Linked DNA regions of Homo sapiens: region 1 is linked to region 2. The links are contacts of gene promoters, found by promoter capture Hi-C in human tissues and cell types (Jung and others, 2019). All regions are on one chromosome and are shown on one strand. The core of a region is centred on a gene start or on the middle of the fragment in contact, and the rest is flanking DNA. Distances in the headings are between cores, read along the strand shown.

Region 1 (3,512 bases), core at 285-2,784, 160 kb after region 2:
TAGAGATGGGTTTTTGCCCCTATTGCCCAGGTTGGTCTCGAACTCCTGAGCTCAGGTGATTTGCCCACCTCAGCCTCCCAAAATGCTGGGATTACAGACGTGAGCCACCACCCCCAGCCTATTTTCTTTTTAAACAAAAGAAAACTTACATTTTTAAGATTAATATTCCAAGGTCATTTTTCTTTCCATGCCAATTATATAATTTGGAATAAAGAACTTATGTTTTAAAGGCTGTCAACTAACTGAGACCCTTTGTGTGACGGAGAAATGTTGCGTTTTGAAAGAAACAGTTATTTTTGTGAACTTCCTGTTCACTGGCCGAGACAGACTTCCCAATAGAGTCTGTTTGGGTCTGTTTGGCCTTCTGGGTCATTTTATACCCTCTGTCTGTAGCCATCAATTGGTTTATGCTTCCTGTGTAGACATGAGTGATCTGGGACAGTTATATGGCGTCCTGTTTTGGATGACGAGAGGGAACCATGAAAATAAATCCATTAATTCCATAAATATTTAGTGAGCACTTGTTTGAGGTAAGTGCTATAATTAGTTTCTGGAAACATGAATATGAAGAAAACACAGTATCTGCCATCAAGAAACTCAGGATCTAATAAACAGATAAACAGTAAACTCAGATGAATTAACACAATAAACTCAGATAAACACAGATAAACTCAGATAAATCCTACTGAGCAAAGTGCAAAACGTGTGGTCACTTTGCTTGGTGGAGATAGGGAAAGCTTTACTGTAGTGGTAGCATTAAAGGTAAGACTTAAGGTATCCATGGGACTTTGCTAAAAAACAATAGGGAAGGCATTCTAGGCAGAAAAACTAACATGTTCCAAGATCTGTCTTTTAGGGAAAGTGCCCAGAAAGTGGGGAATATGATATGGAAGAGCATGTGGTATATTTGGGGGAATATGATATGGAAGAGCATGTGGTATATTTGTGGTATATTTGGGGGAATGCCTGTAGACACAATGAGGCAATTCAATCAATGCCAGATTATAGCTATACAGATTTTATTCTGTATGAAGTAACACAAAGTGAAAGGCAGAGAAAAAAACTTGATAATTATTTTTAAAGATTTATTTGTAGATGATCTATTTATAACAACTAAAATTTGATCACATAAACATGGTAACCTACATGATCCTTTTGGATTATAAATAAATTACTTCATGTTTTCAGATTATCTACAATTATTACAGGGTGAAATTAATTGACTGTAGGTTTTATAGATCTTACATACAAAACACCAGATTCTCTTGTCTTCCTTTAGGTTAGATGAGTAATTATAAGTATGGATTATTATAGTAACAAGAAACAAGCTGGGTTGTTTTGAAAAAGCAGTAAGATTTTTTTCTTAAAGCAAAAAAGCCTCACTCTATGACTTAATTCAAGTTCTATATTAGATTAAGTACTACTTACTGATGGATACAGTGAAATTATACCTTAACTTAGACAAAGTAAAGGGTATGTTTTCTTTTAAACCAAAGGCAAAGACTTAGAAGGAGGAACAAATTACCAATCTGAGAATTTTAAAAACCAGCCGTCTTTTCTCCCAGGCCATACAGTGAATATGCAACGTAGAAAATAAATAAAAGGACCGGGCGCAGTGGCTCACGCCTGTAATCCCAGCACTTTGGGAGGCTGAAGCGGGTGGATCACGAGGTCAGGAGATCAAGGCTATCCTGGCTAATATGGTGAAACCCCATCTCTACCAAAAATACCAAATATTAGCTGGGCGTGGTGGTGGGCGCCTGTAGTCCCAGCTACTCGGGAGGCTGAGGCAGGAGAATGGTGTGAACCTGGGAGGTGGAGCTGCAGTGAGCCAAGATCGCACCACTGCACTTCCAGCCTGGGTGACAGAGCGAGACTCCGTTAAAAAAAAAAAAAAGAAAATAAATAAAAGACATTAAAATGTTTTTACTAAGTACTGTAAAAGGTTACTAATTATCAGTACCAGCACGCTTTCCCTAGTTATGAAACCTCCAAAGGTTATAAAATGAAAATGTCATTGTAGAGGTGGGGCCAAGATGGCTGACTAGAAGCAGCTACGGTCTGTGGCTCTCATGGACAGGTGGTTAATACAGCACCTTCAACTGAAGCATTGAAAAAGGTGAGTTAATATAGCATCTTCAACTGAAGCATCCAGGTACGCATGTTGGGACTAATCAAGGAAATAAGCTATGGAGAATGAAGAAAAGCATGATAGGATGATGACCCACCCAAGAGCAACATGGAGCCACGGGAATGTCCCCCACCCAGGAAAGCAGTGAGTGAAGGTGCAACCCCAGGAAACCATGTTTCTCCCATGGACCCTTGCAACCCTTGGGTCAGGAGACTCCCTCGTGACCACACTCCACCAGGGCCTTCAGTCTGATACACAGGGCTGCATGGAGTCTTGACAGAGCAGCTGCTCAGGCATGCATGGAAGCCCAGGAGCTTTACATACTCTGGCTCCAGGCTTCCTGGCAAGGCAGGAGGTTAGACCTTTATCCACACTCCTAGGAAGGGGGGCTGAATCCAGAGGGCTGAGCAGCAATGGTCTGTGGGCCCCATTTCTGTGGCATCTCACAGGATAAGACACAATGGCTTGGAATTCCAGCCAACCACCAGAAACAGTGTCACACCTACCTGGGATGAAATGGGCCACCATTGTTGCTCTTTGGGGAATTTGTGCAATTCAGCTGTTCCAGCCTGTGGGCTTTGGAGAGCCCAAGCTGACCAGGTGGAAGTGATACCCTAGCATGGCACAGCTGCTCTACAACAATGTGGCCAGACTGCTTCTAAAAGCAGGTCTCTAATCCCATTTCTCCTGACTGGGTGAGACCTCCCAACTGGGGTCTCTAGTCACCCACTACAGGTGCGTTTGGGCCAGCAACAAGTCCATACCTCCCTGGGAGGGAGCTTCCAGGAGAAGGGGCAGGCTGCCATCTTTGCTGTTTTGCAGCCTTCACTGGTGATACTTCCAGGTACTAGAAAATCTGAGGCAAGCAGGGCCTGGAGCAGACCCCCAGAAAACTGCAGCATTCCTACAGAAAAGGGGCTAGACTGGTAAAAGAAAAAACAAACACCTAATCCAAAGGTCAGCAGCCTCAAAGATTGAAGGTAGATAAGTCCACAAAGATGAGAAAAAAAATCAGTGCAAGAATACTGAAAACTCAAAAAGCCAGAGTGCTGTCTTTCCTCCAGATGACAACATCACATCTCCAGCAAGAGTCTGGAACTGGACTGAGGCTGAGATGGCTGAAATGGCAGAAGTGGAATTCAGAATGTGGATAAAAGTAAATTTCCTTGAGCTAAAGGAGCATGTTGTAACCCAATGCAAGGAAGCTAAAGGCCATGGTAAAACATTGCAGGAGCTGACAGACAAAATAGCTAGTATAGAGAAGAACACAACCAAACTGATAGAGCTGAAAAATACAGTACAAGAACTTCATAATGCAATCACAAGTTATAATAGCAAAATAGATCAAGCGTAGGAAAGAATCTCAGAGCTTGAAGAGTGT
Region 2 (3,536 bases), core at 1,027-3,526:
CTAACTCGTTTGGGTTAACCGTATACAAAACAGTGTTTATGTCTCGTTAATACTTAAAAATAGAAACTTGGTACAAGGTTCTGAGGCTAAACAACAGAATTTTGTGTTTTAGTGTCTGTAAATATTAAACAGATATGGTTAAGACCCTAGTACTCAAGGCTGATGACATGAGAAGGAGGGAAGATTTCCTTGTCATGCTTTTTGTCCCCCTGAAACTTATAGGGTTCAGATTTGTAATACGTATGTCTATATATTATTTATATTACATTTTATATAACCTATGTGTATATTATTTTTTCTTGCTAGGGAGAGATATTGGTTCAGGTAGATGTATCACATTCTAAATTTTTCCTCCAGTCTAGAGAGGATGGCTAAAGATTACACTCAGTGTTGATTTCTGTCTGTGGCTCAAATTTCTTTAAAAACAAATTTTCAGGGTGCCTCATGTGAATGGACAGCACTCTTCACACTCATATACACCTAACGTGGAAAATCTCTTTGTACCTCTTCAGGGTGATTCCAGTTAGAAAGCTAATATGATCCCCTTTTTAACCTCTTTTCCTAAATTAGTTTAAAGATTAGTCCCATATAATAGGCTTTATGTGGCTAAGCATTAAGTGACTATCCATCAAATGGATATATTCCAGCATTTAGTAACTCATATGAGTAACCAGTATGAATGAAGATAGAATTGACATTCCTTTTCAAGTGTCTCCAGGCTTAGGAAATAATTTTCCTTGTCTGCGTTCCAGACTCAGTTGTGAGAAGGCTGTTTATACTGCTCTTTGAAAAATCAACTAAGGTGCACCAGCTGAAAAATCCTTGCTTTTGCATGCCAATATGAAAATATTTTTAGAATGGTGACTATGCTAGTTTACACTGCTTTAATTTAGGCTGAAAAGTAGAGGATCTAGATATGTCTACTACTCAGAAAAGAAAGGGAGAAAGCACACAGCACAAATAAGGCATCAGTATTTACTTCAAAGATCAACATTAGGTGGAATTAATAAGTAATTTATTTGTTAATAATGGCGTAATTAGTGTACCCATCAAATTTCAATTACCAAATAGCAGGCAACAGTCTCCTCTCCCTCCTTTCCGGAGCTTCTGATATCGTTAATACGCTAATTTTCAGCAATTCAGAAATTATAGACTGTCCTGCAAATATAACTCTAGCCTCAGATACTGCCTGAGAAAGCAGGATCTAAAAGAGAAAACATGAAATTCTTAGCTGGAAAAGACCCATCAGCGATCAGACCCGGCAAGGTGTTTATTCTACCCTTAGCTTGTTTTTGTTTGGGGATAGTTCTGAAATAGGAAGTTATTGTTTTCAAAGCTCGGTTCTGTGGAGGTGTTGCTTCTATCCATTCCCATCCTTGGGCCACCTTCTCTCTCACAATCGCACCTAGTAAATGCGGGCATATTTAGCTCTCACATCGACAACCCCCGTCAAATTAGATGCTATTACGAAGGTTCCAATTTTTCTTAGGAAAACACGAAACAGATTGTCTCTGAAAGAAGGAAAAAATGAAAAGTGTCCATCCAGTTATAATGGAATGGCCTCGATTTACATCCTTGGGTCGATTTCTCTTAGCTGCCCGCCCACCCTTTGCAGCTTCTGCCAAGCTTCTCAAAGCAAGGGCTCTCAGGCTGACACGCAAGGAGCAGGGTGTGGGGAAGGGGGATCTGCGGTTGAGAAAATGTGTCTGGTGGCCTCTCAGTGGCGTACATAAAAACCAGGATGCCCCTCGGTCCCAACGCCCTTCCTTTCGCCTGTTAGCCTAGAACCCCTGAAGGACACGAAGCCTGACTGGGTTGCGCCCGAGGTCAGCGCTGAGTCGCGGCCGCCAGACAGCCCGAGGCCTAGGCCAGCAGTAGGGCAGGCAGAGGGCTCCCGAGAGGACCTACAGCCTGACAGGGCCTGAATTCCCAGCGGGAACCAAAGCTGGGGGGCTGGGGTCCAAAGCTCCTGCTCCCTCCCCCAGCCCAGGGGCCGGACAGCAGCATCCATCACGCACCCGCGCGTTTCCTGATCCGGGTCCGCGCGCGCGGTGCGCCCATTGGTGGGGGCGCTGCACGTGGGGCACGGGGCGGGGCGCGCGCTGGGCTGGGGAGGAGCGGCTCGAACTTTGGTGGCGGCGTCTGCGGGAGGGGGAGGAGTGGGCACTTGACAGCGGGGGGAGGGGAAGGGCGCAGAGGAAAGGGGGATGGGAAGCGAGGCAGGAGGGGGAGGGGCCTCGGCAAGCCCAGAAAAAACGACAACGCGAGAAAAATTAGTATTTTTGCACTTCACAAATTAATGACCATGAGCTCGTTTTTGATAAACTCCAACTACATCGAGCCCAAGTTCCCTCCCTTCGAGGAGTACGCGCAGCACAGCGGCTCGGGCGGCGCAGACGGCGGCCCGGGCGGGGGCCCCGGCTACCAGCAGCCCCCAGCGCCCCCGACCCAGCACCTGCCGCTGCAGCAGCCCCAGCTCCCTCACGCGGGCGGCGGCCGAGAGCCCACTGCCTCCTACTACGCGCCGCGGACCGCCCGCGAGCCCGCCTACCCTGCTGCCGCGCTGTACCCCGCGCATGGGGCCGCGGACACCGCCTACCCCTATGGCTACCGCGGCGGCGCCAGCCCCGGGCGGCCGCCCCAGCCCGAGCAGCCCCCGGCGCAAGCCAAGGGCCCAGCGCACGGCCTGCATGCGAGCCACGTCCTGCAGCCCCAGCTGCCGCCGCCCCTGCAGCCTCGCGCCGTGCCCCCAGCGGCCCCGCGGCGCTGCGAGGCGGCCCCCGCCACCCCAGGCGTCCCGGCAGGGGGCAGCGCCCCCGCGTGCCCGCTGCTCTTGGCCGACAAGAGCCCGCTGGGCCTGAAGGGCAAGGAGCCCGTGGTGTACCCCTGGATGAAGAAGATCCATGTCAGCGCCGGTACGTGGCGCCGCTTGGGAGGCGCGGGAGGTGGGCCGGGGCTGGGCCTGGGTTCGAGGGTCGGGGTCAGGAGGGAGAGGCTCAGGGGAAGGGGGCCTCGGGAGGGGAGCCCCCATCTGACCCGGGCTGCGGTGAGATGTGGGTATGTGCGCGCCAGCCAGCCGCCTGATCCCAACATGAGAACCCTTTTGTACCCAGGGTCCCTTTATCAGGAGATTTACGAGACGCCAAACTGTTAGGGCAGTAATTATAGCCCCCATAAATTTAATTGCCCTGGCAGAGGCTTCAGGCCATGTGTCTTTGAAGCTTTTCTTCAGCCCCAATGCCCAGCACCATTCTTTATGGCTCTCGGGTGTTTCCCGTTGTCAATAGCCTGTGAAACATTTTCTTTGCCGTTTTATGTATCTTGCGTGAACTTGGTGTCAGGTTATTATATAATGATGATGTCCAATTGCTCTTCCCCACCCCACCTTCTCTCTCCTCCTCCTTTCCCTCTCTTCCGCTCCCTCCTCCTTGGCCTTCTATTTCGGGGTTCTGGGTTTTCAGTTAACCCCAGTTATAACGGAGGGGAGCCTAAGCGCTCTCGAACCGCCTACACCCGGCAGCAGGTCTTGGAGCTGG

What was found. Contacts are between HindIII fragments. The study calls those that stand out against the background at their distance.
Region 1: a fragment that was not itself captured here is called in contact with the fragment with the promoter of HOXA4 in region 2 in 1 of the 25 tissues and cell types used here (spleen).

The regions. Positions count from the first base shown.
Region 1 is chr7:26,972,917-26,976,428 of GRCh38, reverse strand. No RefSeq gene overlaps it. Among named protein-coding and RNA genes, the nearest start is that of SKAP2, 110 kb to the right of the region's middle. The HindIII fragment of the contact is 3,561 bases long and covers 1-3,314 here.
Region 2 is chr7:27,129,497-27,133,032 of GRCh38, reverse strand. It overlaps HOXA4 (homeobox A4), which reads left to right and starts at 2,276. Exons shown (of 2, transcript NM_002141.5): 1 at 2,276-2,915; 2 at 3,462-3,536. The coding sequence starts at 2,300. All of the region lies in intron 2 of HOXA3 (homeobox A3), which reads left to right. RefSeq lists a silencer at 2,049-2,118. The HindIII fragment of the contact is 3,192 bases long and covers 539-3,536 here.